3 separate regions of the Homo sapiens genome follow, and all the other regions are linked to region 2. The links are contacts of gene promoters, found by promoter capture Hi-C in human tissues and cell types (Jung and others, 2019). All regions are on one chromosome and are shown on one strand. The core of a region is centred on a gene start or on the middle of the fragment in contact, and the rest is flanking DNA. Distances in the headings are between cores, read along the strand shown. Region 1 overlaps FNDC3A (fibronectin type III domain containing 3A). Region 2 holds the start of MLNR (motilin receptor). Region 3 overlaps FNDC3A (fibronectin type III domain containing 3A).

Region 1 (4,603 bases), core at 437-2,936, 70 kb after region 2:
TTGGGGGGATGGGGGAGGGATGGCATTAAGTGAAATACCTATTGTAAATGACAAGTTAATGGGTGCAGCACACCAACATGGCACATGTATACCTATGTAACAAACCTGTACGGTATGCACATGTACCCTATAACTTAAAGTATAATAATAATAAAAAAAACAAAAAGAAACAAAAAACTTTCTACTTAAAAGACACAAACTCACTGAATGAATTAAAAAATGTGACCCAATTATATGCTGTCTACAAGAAACTCATCTCACCTGTAAAGATACATACAGACTGAAAGTAAAGGGATGGAAAACGATAATCCATGCAAACAGAAACCAAAAGTGAGCAGGAGTAGCTACACTCAGATAAAACAGACTTTATGTCAAAAACAGTAAAAAGAGACAAAATCATTATATAATGATAAAGGGATCAATTCAGCAAGAGGATATAACAATTCTAAACATATATGTACCCAACACTGGAGCACCCAGAAATATAAAGCAATTATTGCTAGATTTAAAGGGAGAGACAGACTCCAATAAAATAATAGTTGGGGACTTCAACCCCCCACTCTCAGCATTAGACAGATCATCTAGACAGAAAATTAACAAAGAAATTTCATTGTATTTAAATGGCACATTAGACCAAATGGACATAACTGACCTTTGTGAATACATTTCATCCAAAGGCTACAGAAAACACATTCTTCTTTACAACACATGAAACATGAAACATTCTTTAGGGTAGACCATATGTCAGTACACAATACAGGTCTCAACAATTTTTTTTTTTTTTTTTTTTTGAGACGGAGTCTTGCTGGGTTGCCAGGATGGAGTGCAGTGGTGCCATCTTGGCTCACTGCAACCTCTGTCTCCCAGGTTCAAGCGATTCCCCTGCCTCAGCCTCCCGAGTAGCTGGGACTACAGGCGTGCACCACCACACCTCGCTAATTTTTTGTATTTTAGTAGAGACGGGATTTCACCATGTTGGCCAGGATGGTCTTGATCTCTTGCCATCGTGATCTGCCCACCTCGGCTTCCCAAAGTGCTGGGATTAGAGGTGTAAGCCACCGTGCCCGGCCTCAAGAAATTTTAAAACACTGAAATTATATCATATATTTTCTAATAACTTAATAGAATAAAACTAGAAATCAATAACAAGAGGAACTCTGGAAACTGTGCAACTACCTGGAAACTAAACAACATGCTCCTGAATGACCACTGGTAGAGGGACAAATTAAGGAAGAAATAAAAAAAAAATTCTTGGAACAAATTAAAATGGAAACACAAAATATTAAAACCTATGGGATACAGCAAAAGCAGTGCCAAGAGGGAAGTTTATAGCAATAAATGTCTACATTAAAAAGCTTAAAGAGTCTAAATAAACAATCTAGCAATGCACATCTCAAGAACTACAAAAGCAAGAACAAACCAAATCCAAAATTAGTGGAAGAAATAATAAAGATCAGAGCAGACAGCCAGGTGCAGTGGTGCAGATCAGAGCAGACAGCCAGGTGCAGTGGTGCACACCTACAGTCCCAGGTACTTGGGAGGCTGACGTGGGAGGATCACTTGAGCCCAGGAGTTTGAGTCCAGCTTAGGCAACATCGCAAGATGCCATCTCTAAAACAAATAAAAAATCAGAACAGAACTAAACCACCACCTAGACTAATCAAGAGAAGAAGAAAGGGGACCCAAATAAAATCAGAAGTGGAAAAGGAGACACTACAACTGATAACACAGTTACAATCATCAGAGACTATTATGGACAACCTACACCAACAAACTGAAAAATCTGAGGAAGTGGACAAATTCCTAGATACATACTACCTACCAAGATTCAATCAGCGAGAAATAGAAAATATGAACCAACCAATAACGAGTAATGAGATTGAATCAGTAATAAAGAGTCTTCAAACAAAGAAAAGTCCAGGACCAATGGCTTCACTGACAAATTCTACCAAACTTTTAAGGAACACCAATTCTCCTCAAACTATTCCAAAAACATTGAAGAGGAGGGAATTCTCTCTAACTCATTCTACAAGGACAGCATCACTCTGGTACCAAAACCAGATACGGACACAACAAAAAAAGAAAAGTACAGACTAATCCTTGATAAACACGGACACGAAATCCTCATCAAAACACTGGCAAACTGAATTCAACAGCACATTATAAAGACAATACACCATGATCAAGTGGGATTTATACCAGGGATGCAAGGATGGCTCAACATACACAAATCAATAATGTGATACACCATATCAACATAATGAAGGACAAAAATTATATGATCATCTCAATAGATGTAGAGAAATTTTGATAAAATTCAGCATCCCTTCATAAAATCTTTCAACAAACTAGGCACTAAAGGGACATACCTCAACATAATAAAGACCACATATGACAGACCCATAGCTAACATCATACAGAAAGGGGAAAGTCTAAAAACCTTTCCTCTAAGAACTCGAACAAGACAAGGATGCCTACTCTCACCACTCCAATATGGTACTGGAAGTCCTAGCCAGAGCAACCAGCCAAGAGAAAGGAATAAAAGGTATTCAGATTAAAAAAAAAAAAAAAGTCAAATTGTCCTTCTTTGTAGATGACATGATCTTACATGTAGAAAAATCTGAAGACTCCACCAGAAAACTCTTGGATCTGATAAATAAATTCAGTAAGTTGCAGGATATAAAATCAAAATACAAAAATCAGCATCATTTCTATACACTAATAATAAACTAGCTGAGAAAGAAGCCCAAAAGGCAATCACATTTACAATAGCTACAAAAGAAAAAACACCCTAAGAATAAATCTAATATAACAGGTAGAAAGATCTCTACAAGATAAAACTATAAAACACTGATGAAAGAAATTGAAGAGAACACAAACAAATGAAAAGACATCCATTGCTCATGTATTCAAAAAATTAATACCATTAAAATGAACATACTGTCCAAAGCAATTTATATTCAATGGAATCCCTATCAAAATACCAATGTCATTTTTCACAGAAATATAAAAAGTGATCCAAAAATGTCTATGGAACCAAAAAATAGCCTGAATAGCCAACGCAATCCTAAGTAAAAAGAACAAAGCTGGAGGCATCACTCTACCTGACTTCAAAATATACTGCAAGACTATAGTAATCAAAACAGCATGGCATTGGTATAAAAATAGACACAAGAACTAAGGAACACAATAGAGAAGCCAGAAATAAATTTATAGCCAAATGACTTTTTAACAATGGTGCCAAGAACATACACTGGGGAAAGGATACCCTTCTCAATAAATGCTGCTAGGAAAATTGGATATCCACCTGCAGAAGAATGAAACTGGACTGTATCTCTCATCTTACATAAAAATAAACACAAGAAGGCTTACAGACTTAAATGTTTAAGACCTGAAACTATGAAATCCTGGAAGAAAATATAGAAGAAACACTTCAGGACACTGGTTTAAGCAAAGATTTTATGCTAAGACCCCCAAAGCACAGGCAACAACAAAAAAAAGAAAAATAGAGAAATAAACTAAAACTTTTGCACAGCAGAGGAAACAACCAACACAGTGAAGACACAACCCTCAGAAAGGGAGAGAGTATTTGCAAACTATTCATCTAACAAAAGACTAATATCCAGAATATACAAGGAATTCAACTCAACAGGAAAAACACAAATAATCCCATTAAAAGTGGACAAAGGACATGAATAGACATTTCTCCAAAGACATACAAATGGCCAACAGGTATATGAAAAAATACTCTACATCATTAGTCAGGGAAATCCAAATCAAAATTACAATGAGATCATTTTACCCTAGTTAGAATGGCTACTATTACAAAGACAAAAAAATAACAGATGCTGGTGAGGATGCAGAGAAAAAAAGCCCTTATACACTGTTGGTGGAATGTTAATTAGTACAACCAATATGGATACAAGTGTGGAGATTTCTCAAAAAATTAAAAATAGAAATATCATACAAATGAGCAATCCCACTACTGGGTATTTTTCCAAATAGGGGAAAAATCAGTATATTGAAGAGATGTGCTTTTCCCACATTTACTGCAGCACTATTGACAAGAGCAAAAATATAGATCAACCTAAGTGTCCATCAATGGATGAATGGGATAAAGAAAATGTGGTATATATACACAACAGAATATTATTTGGGTATGTAGCCGCAAACCAGCCTATTCCCTACTTTTTTTTTTTTTAAACTTAAAATCACGATTCCCTATTTCATTTCCTTCCACCAAGTCTCTCTCCTCTCCACTTTATGGACTTCTTTCCATTCCCCACCCCTTACCTCCCAGCTACTCTATTTCTCAAATCAAGGCCAGTAAATATGATGAAAAATAAATATGTTTCAAGGCTGAAAGTACATTTTAATGAACTGGGCAGTTGCAGTAGCATCCTTAGAGACCTTAATTCCTGTAGGATATGGGAGATGACTAATGCCCCCCTCGTGCTCCCTGGTCAGGCTGCAAATGGAAATAAAGCATTCCTCTTAGTAAGCAGCCATATATAACTAAAAAACAGTCATTAACATAGTAAGAAACCTTTATGTTGATAGTCCTTTATCCCCTACTTACCCCTTAGGTTTACTTGTCTCTCTT
Region 2 (4,048 bases), core at 966-3,465:
CATACCTTGGTTAAATAAATCATGCGGTCTATTTCTTAACCAACTGGCACAACTGCAACCCTCTTTCCATTCTTCTTAACAGGATCTGTTCCTCATTTGCAGTCTTTATTTCTCTACACACCTGTTTTCCCCAAAGTCTTAGAACTGCAAGAGGAGCCTGGCTTGGCCGTGCTGGTTATCCCATCGTCTTCACGTTAGCGCTTGTCTCGGTGTAGCCCACCGTGTCTCCTCCAGTGTCCCCTGCAACTTCCCCCGCAGTGTCCCTGCTTCTGTGGAAGCCTCTCGGCCTGGACTTCCTTGCGAGCAGCAGTTTAAAGGCCGCCGCTCTGTACTTCTTTGAAATGAGGTTGTAGAGGATTGGGTTGATAGATGCGCTCAGATAGAAAAGTTGCAGAGCGACGATGTTAAAGTACTGAGAGAAGTACATCATCCGCGAATCTTCCGTGTTTATGTAAATGATTCTGCCAACGTGGAAGGGCAACCAGCAAATTATAAATGCCAGAACCACCACCACTGCAACATAAGACACAGCACCGGGATTAACAAAAGCATTGGGAAGCAAATAAACCCCCCACCCCGACAAGGAACCATCTGCAATAACAAGTAACAGCAAAATAAATTAGAGAAAACTTCTACCTAGGCAGATCCTCACCCCAGAAAAAATGACCAGGCTGCAGGCTGCATGGATACTTGCTTTAAAACTGCATAGTAGGCTCCCATATGTGTTATCAAGGCTGGACATAAACCAGAAGGAGCAATTTCTCTGAACAAGCCGCCTTGGCAGGCTTCCTTCCACAAACCCACTTCGGAGACAAGTTTTCTGTTCTCTGTTGAAAAGAATTCTACAACAGGTCTGCACAATCTTTACTTTTTGATACGAGCAAGGTTTACTTTAGCCTTCAGCATCACTTAACATTAAATAAAAAATTTTAGCTTAATGAAATCTCCCTCGTCTTCTCAAGAGCACTGTGAGGACTCCTCATCTGTGGCATCTAACAGGTGGTTGGATTAAGAATTACCAACTCTCCTTTCTGGTCTCAGAGGCTCTGGAAAAGCACTGCTGGTTACTGAATCGGATCCGGGGATCCCACCCTCAAAGCGCCCTGGGGTCCCCCAGAGCTCCTGGGGGACAGGACATGGTTTTCTCGGGGGATGGGAAGTACCGGCGGGTGGAGGCTGGAATCGAAATAGGAAAGGGAGCTGGAAGCGGCGCCCAGAGCTGGGCGAGCAGGGGAAGGGGACCCAGCGTTTGCGCGGTCCCCGGCGGGGCGGACTGCAGGCAGGCGTCTTTGGAACCACGGCGGCTCCACTTACGCAGGACGCGGACGGTCTGCCGGTGGCCTCTCTCCCGCCCCGAGGCGGCCGGGCCTCGCAGCGGCCGCCGGCTGCTCCACAGCTCCCGCCCGATGAGCCCGTAGAGGATGCTGAGGCACAGAAAGGGCAGGAAGAAGTAGGCGGTGGTGACCCACAGCATGACACGCAGCGCGCCCAGCTGCGCGGGGCTCGGCCGGCATTCGCGGCTGAACAGCGCCGCGGCCTCCGCGGTCTCGGGCCCCGACGGCGGGGACGGCGGTGGCGCCCGCGAGAGCCAGAGAGGCGGCGACGAGGCGAGAGGCGAGGAGGCGATCCGCGCGGTGCCATTGAGGCCCGGGACTACGGAGATGCCGGGGTCCTGCTCGACGCCCACCAGGAACAAGAAGGGACCGGCAGAGAGCAGCGCCACGGCCCAGAGCACAGCGATGAGCGCGCGGACGCGGCGCCGGGTGACCAAGACGCGGGCGCGGAGCGGGCGGCAGATGGCCAGGTAGCGCTCGACGCTGAGCGCGGTCATGTGCAGCAGCGTGGCGTAGGTGCAGCCCTCGCCCACGTAGAGGGACAGGCGGCAGAGCAGCGGCCCGAACACCCAGGGCCGCGAGCGCCAGAGGCGGTACAGGTCGAACGGCAGCCCGAGCAGGATGAGTAGGTCGGACACGGCCATGCTGCCCAGGTACAAGTTGGTGGTGGTCCGCATGTCCCGGTAGCGCCCGATCAGCATCACGGTCACCACGTTGCCGCTCACCCCGACGACGAACAGGCACAGGCACACAGCGGTCACCGGCACCAGCGCCCCCAGGGGAAAGGGCGAGCAGCGGCGCTCGTCGCAAGGCGGCAGCGCGGGCCACGGCGGCTCCCGCGCCCCCTCGGGGCCGTCGCTGCCGTTCCAGGGGCTGCCCATGGGTGCTCCGCGCGGCCGCCGCGTCCCGGGTCGGGCTGGGAGCCTGGCGCGTGGTCCCTCTCGGTGAGCGCCTCCTTTCCCAGCCCGCACGCTGCGGGCGCGGCAGGTCAGACGGCGGAGCGCTGCGCTGCGCTGCGGGGCGCGAGAAGCGGCTCTGCGGGGTGGGCTCCGAGGCGCTCCCGAGCTAGCTGCGCGCAGTCTCCGCCCACGGCCGCGGCCCGCCCCGGCCCGGCCCTGCTCCGCTCCCGCGCCCTCTCCCGGGCCCATGCAGTTCCAGGGCGCTTCCCTCTCCACTAACTGGAATACCCGGCGCCCTTAGCGCACGAGCCCTACCCGGTCCGGTGAGCGATGTCTGCACCCTAGACAGCTTTGGTTACAGGACTGAGCACTGTACGGGCGCTTTTGTCAGTCTGGTACTCCGGGCACCTTCGAAGGGATCTGGTCTGGTGGCTGGTAGCTGCCGCTTGACGGTGGAGGAGGGCTCATGGTAATCCTCAGGAAGCCATAATGCTAAATAATAGGAGGGGAGTCTAGACCAGAATCTAGAGCCTCTCCTGTCTAATCCTGGCTCTACAACCGAGTAACTTGTGTAATCTTGGGCTAGTCCTGGTCTCGCCCAGCCCAGTTCTCCTCTTCTGTAAATTCGCGAGTGGTGGAGGGAGCTGACCATATAATTGACCAAATAATTTCTTTTTTTTCTTTTTTTCTTTCTTTCTTTCTTTTTTTCTTCTTGAGACAGGGTCTCACTGTCGTCCAGGCTGGAGTTTAAGTGGCGCGATCACAGCTCACTGCAGCCTCGACCTCCCAGGCTCAAGCAGTCCTCCCACCTCAGCCTCCTGAGTAGCTGGGAGCACAGGAGCGCCCAAGCCCCGGCTAAATTTTGTGTTTTTTGTGTAGTCAGGGTTTCGCCATGTTGGCCAGCCTGGTCTCGAACTCCTGACCCCAGGTGGTCCACCCGCCTCGACCTCCCAAAGTGCTGGGATTACAGGCGTGAGCCACCGCGCCCGGCAGTGACCAGATAATTTCAAGGATCCGTGAGCATGTTTACTTATTATAAAGAACAAGACAAATATTTACGTGGACACTAGAGTACTTTCACATGTGATATGTCATTCTTATGTACAACATGTTTTATAAACTTAAAAAACTAGAGGATTTGTCAACACCGGAAAGAACGAAAATTGGGGAAAGGGGCTAAAACGGATGTTCAGTCTGTTCGGTGTGGTCTTAATAACAATAGCTAACACTTACTGAGAATTTAGATGGATCTGGCCCTGTGCTCTCCATTTAATCCTCATGGCCCGGGGCGCTCCTTTCGCCCATGAACAAAGCGGTCTTGCTTGAGATCAAGCAGGCAGTAAGAGGCGGGACTGGGATATGGGCTCTGGTCGGCCTAATCCCAGAGCTTGCAAGCCTGACGTCCTACTCACTGCCCAGCTCCACCCCCTCAGTGGCTTAAATCCTCAACCTCTTCTCTGGAGTCTCGATTCTGGACCTGACACCTGGCTTTGCCTAGGGCAAGCTTCTCCTGCAGTTCTCTCTCACATGCAGACTGTGAGCTTGGAGGAGGGACACCTGTCGCCTCCCTCATCGCTGCTGTTTCCAGCGGTCCTAAAACCGCCCTCCCTAGCGCTTTCCTCCGTGGTCACCCGTAGTCCCTGAGGGACAGGTGCCTGCGCTCTCTTTGAAGCACTGCATCTGCGGCCGTTCACACCCATGCCGAGTCTTGGAATGCCTTGGCCTCTAGTTTGTTGACCTCCTTTCCACCTATGACCTTGCTCTCCACCCGATCTCAGCCGCGCCTGTCGACGGAACTTACACCTCACGGTTGCC
Region 3 (4,448 bases), core at 1,356-3,855, 91 kb after region 2:
GCACCACTAAGTAGTGCTGCATGATATAAGTTACTTCCCTTCTTTGATTTTTCTGTTTACTTACCTGCCTTGAAGGGTGATCATGAGGATGAAGCACCTAATATAGTACTTGAGTAAAAGAAAAATGCCTGTTACATCATTACCATTTGCTGTTTTTTTAATGTGATATGATAATGGCATCTATTATATCCAAGCGAAGAATATCCAACTCAATAACAGTGGAATACTTTTAGATGTCTTACCTACATCTCCATAGACTTGTGAAGACTGATACTGTGGCATATACTGTGTTGTCATGTCTCCAGCTCCAGTCACGGGTGAGTACATATGACGTGGTGGAGGCGGCATCATAGTTGGGACAGGAATGAAACCAGGTAGAGGAGGATGTGGAGAACGGTGGAGAACTGTGTGACTACCAGGGTGAAACTCTGGTGCCTGAGGGACCACGACAACTCTTCGAACACCATTGTCTTCAATAACCTACAAAATGAACATCAGATTAAAATTTCTTCCATAGAATATAAACAATTCTTTTAAAAATGTTAAGAGTAGGGTAGGCACGGTAGCTCATGCCTCTAGTCCCAGCACTTTGGGAGGCTGAGGCAGGTGGATTACCTAGGGTCAGGAGTTCGAGAACAGCCTGGACAACATGGCGAAACCCTGTCTCTACTAAAAATACAAAAATTAGCTGGGCATGGTGGCCCATGCCTGTAATCCCAGCTACTTGGGAGGCTGAGGCAGAATTGCTTGAACCTGGGAGGTGGAGGTTGCAGTGAGCCGAGATAGCACCATTGCACTCTAGCCTGGGCAACAGAGCAAGACTCTGTCTCAAAAATAAAATAAAATAAAAATGTAAGAGTAAGAATTTTTACACCATTAGAAATTTTAAAAATTTGGAGAATCAACATGAAAACAACTTATTAAATATATTGGTACATGTAAATTAGCACTAAACAAAATGAATTAGTTTTTGTTATACAATTCAATATAAATCTTAAAACACTGATTAGACAAGCTAAAGAGTAACCTAATAAGTTATGATACTAGATATTTATCCTATGTGTTATGTGCATTTCCTGATGGAGTAATTTTGGTTTAGACACAAGAGGTTCAGGAATCAATTTCCTTTTCTATATTATGACTAGGAGTAGGGGAAAACAAGTTGTGGAAAGACCAAATAGAAAACAAAACAACTGGATCCAGACTCAATCAGATAATCAATGACATGTTAGAATTTGGATGTAAAATTCTTATGACCATGACCAGGACAATTTTAACAGCTGATCATTTCAAGGGACACAAATACTGAATATTACTATATTAACTCCTAGCTAGGAAAAATATCTGTGGCTTTGAGGCTTAGAAATTACAAACTAAAAAAAAAAAACCAAAAAACAAAAAACAGGAATTACACCGTGGGGATAAATTTTTTTAAATGACAAGACTTACTCCTCTTTGAACCTTACTAGAGCTGCAAAGACACACAGGAAACCCTAAAAAATTAAAGGACTTTATCTTAAAATTAGAAATCCCTCACTAAAATAAGGCCCTTATTCTTTTAGACTTATATGGTAATTATTAAGGTATAACAAATGGCTAATACCTTCCTCAGGAAACAGAAAATGATCATAATGTTAAGTGCTAATTTAAAGGCAAATCCTGATTTTCAGGAAGGCAAAGGTTTATTATGCTTAAGGATAGCAAATTATTTTATAAATATATGTGCTTGGTAGGTATAGGTATACTAGAAAACACACTTATCTGGGTATAGATAAGCCTAAATTACAAACATTAATTAGATTATTAAACTATCCTTACCTACTGGAGTGTGACATGACTCTTCTAACAGGGGACTAGATGACCAAATGAATTAACTGTTTTTAATATGCTGGGTCTAGAACCATAATGCCTTGTTTTCAGCAAAATGGATGCCTCAGACCCCTTTCTCCCTATTTAACTCAGTTCTGAATTTAAGTCTCAAGCAAACATATATGATTGATGGGAACTAAACAATATCTAGAACCCTACCTGAAGGGAATCTGGGAACTGCTGATAGCTTTTTAGCTTCTACCCTACAGGAACGAACACTGGAAGAAGTTTGAAATGGATTTTAAGTGAGCCAAATCACAGTATCTGTCACAATACTCATTTCACCTTTATCACTCTCCAATTCACAAATCTTAAAAAACGGAGCCATTTCCAAGAGGCTTGTACTTCATATTCATTCAACCTGGTTCCAAACTACCTTCTAAGTTGTATCGTTCTTTTGCAACAAATCCTGAACCATTAACTGCAGTCAGGCTGGTATAATAAAAAACCTGTTTTCACAGTGACTATACATTTCTATACCCTGTACTTTTATTTATGCAATTATTCTTCTTCACTTTGCTTCCCTTTAATCTATAATAATCTTGTCTATCCTTCCAATTCTAGCTCTAACTTTACCTTCTCCACTCATTTAAAACACTATTTTTCAGCAAAACAAACTGATAATTCAAAGAGGGAAAAACCTCAGAATGATATATTAAATATTTGTGGGGAACCCACACTAACAGGGGCAGACAAACACAACAAGTAAGTTACTTAGCATGTTGCAAGGTGATAAATACTATGGAAAAGGCATAGCAGGTAAGGGCTATTAGAAGTGTTGTGAGAAAGGAGCAGGTTACAGAATAAACACAGGGATCAGAGTAGGCCTTACTGGCAAAGAAAAGCTTAAGCAGAAACTTGAAGGAAGTGGAGGAATTAACTATGTAGAAATCTGGAAGATTTGTTCTAGGAAGAGGGAACAGTTAGAATAAAGCCCCTAAGGTAGAAGTGGGGCTGATTATACCCAAGGGATGAAAGGAAGCTGGTGTGACTGCATGAGTATAAAGGAGCAAAGGCAGAAGCAGATGAAGTCAAAGAAATGAAGCGGTGATAGGGTGGTCAGGTCAGGCACCACGACACAGGCTACTATTAAGGAGTTGGAGTTCATCATTTACTGTCAGTGGAATGGGAAATCATCACAAAGTTTTGGGCAGAAGAGTGATAAAATCTAGTGTTTCTGACTCCTAGAGGATATGTGGTAGGGTCTGGAGACATTTATAGTTGTCACAACTCGGGGCAGTGGGGGAGGTGCACTATTAACACCTAGAAAGTAGAGAGGCCCGGAATACTGCTAAATAACCTACAACACAGAGGGCAACAAAAACATCACCCCACCTCAAATGTTTACATTACTATGGTTGAGAATTCCTGATGTAACCTTATATTTGACAGGACTATTCTGGCTGCTGAGTTGAGAAGAGATCGTAGGGAGGCAAAGACAAAAGCAGGGAAACCATTCAGAAAGCTACTGTAGTAATCTAGGCAAGAGATGATCACAGCTAAGACCAGGGAAGCAGCAGTGGAGATGGTGAGAAGTGACCCACATTCTGCATATATTTAAAAGTAGAAGCCAGGTGCAGTGGCTCACGCCTGTAATCCCAGCACTTTGGGAGGCCGAGGTGGGTGGATCATGAGGTCAGGCGTTCGAGACCAGCCTGGCCAATATGGTGAAATTACATCTCTACTAAAAATACAAAAATTAGCTGGGCATGGTGGCACGCACCTGTAGTCCCAGCTGCTCAGGAGGCTGAGGCAAGAGAATCGTTTGAACCCGGGAGGCAGAGGTTGCAGTGAGCCGAGACTGTGCTGCTGCACTCCAGCCTGGGCAACAGAGCAAGACTCCATCTCAAAAAGAAAAAAAAAAAGTAGAGAAACAAGACAAGATTAGCTGATGATTCCATGTGGGAAGTGAGAAAAAGAAGTTAGGGAACAATAGTCTTCCATCAATGTGATGAGGAAGGCTGTGGAGTAGAACAAGTTTTTTTCAGGGGAAGAGATTTGGAGTTTCAAGTTTTGCACTTGTGAGTTTGAAGAGTTTATAAGACAACTTAGTGGAAATGTTGAATAGACTGTTAAGATATACTAGTCTGCAATTCTGGAAAGATTGGGAAGGGATGACCAAGCGAGGCAGAAGGAAAACTAAGACAGTGTATAGAGTCTGAAGTTTGGTGAAGCATGTCAAGGAGGAAGGATTAACTGTGTCAAATGCTGCTGATAGGTCAAACAAGAGGAAGACTAAGAATCTGACCACTGGATTTAGCAATGTAGACATTACTGTGACCTTGAAGAGGGCAGTTTTGGTATAGTCATAGGGTCAAAGCCCAACTGCAGTGGGTTTAAGTGAGAAAGTAAGGAGAAGAATTAGAGCTAACTGCACAATTTTAAAATGTTCTGCTGCAAAGGGGAATACAGAAATAGGGTGGTGGCTCATACAAGTAGTGAAGTCAAGAAACTTTGATGTTTTGTTGTTTTCAGGAGTGAAATTACAAAAGGCTCAAGATACTAATGAAAATAATCTAGCAGAGAACAAGAAATTGATAACACAGAAGAGAGAAAAGAAAAATGCTAGAGTAATGTGT

What was found. Contacts are between HindIII fragments. The study calls those that stand out against the background at their distance.
Region 1: a fragment that was not itself captured here is called in contact with the fragment with the promoter of MLNR in region 2 in 2 of the 25 tissues and cell types used here (heart left ventricle and lymphoblastoid cells).
Region 3: a fragment that was not itself captured here is called in contact with the fragment with the promoter of MLNR in region 2 in 3 of the 25 tissues and cell types used here (IMR-90 fibroblasts, bladder and dorsolateral prefrontal cortex).

The regions. Positions count from the first base shown.
Region 1 is chr13:49,147,132-49,151,734 of GRCh38, reverse strand. All of the region lies in intron 8 of FNDC3A (fibronectin type III domain containing 3A), which reads right to left. Among named protein-coding and RNA genes, the nearest start is that of MLNR, 71 kb to the left of the region's middle. The HindIII fragment of the contact is 5,171 bases long and covers 1-4,271 here.
Region 2 is chr13:49,218,505-49,222,552 of GRCh38, reverse strand. MLNR (motilin receptor) reads right to left here and starts at 2,215. Exons shown (of 2, transcript NM_001507.1): 1 at 1,315-2,215; 2 at 176-513. The coding sequence starts at 2,215. The coding sequence ends at 176. RefSeq lists silencers at 2,183-2,262, 2,333-2,592, 2,529-2,785. The HindIII fragment of the contact is 10,157 bases long and covers 1-4,048 here.
Region 3 is chr13:49,127,169-49,131,616 of GRCh38, reverse strand. FNDC3A (fibronectin type III domain containing 3A) reads right to left here. Exons shown (of 26, transcript NM_001079673.2): 5 at 243-480. Among named protein-coding and RNA genes, the nearest start is that of MLNR, 91 kb to the left of the region's middle. The HindIII fragment of the contact is 7,041 bases long and covers 1-4,448 here.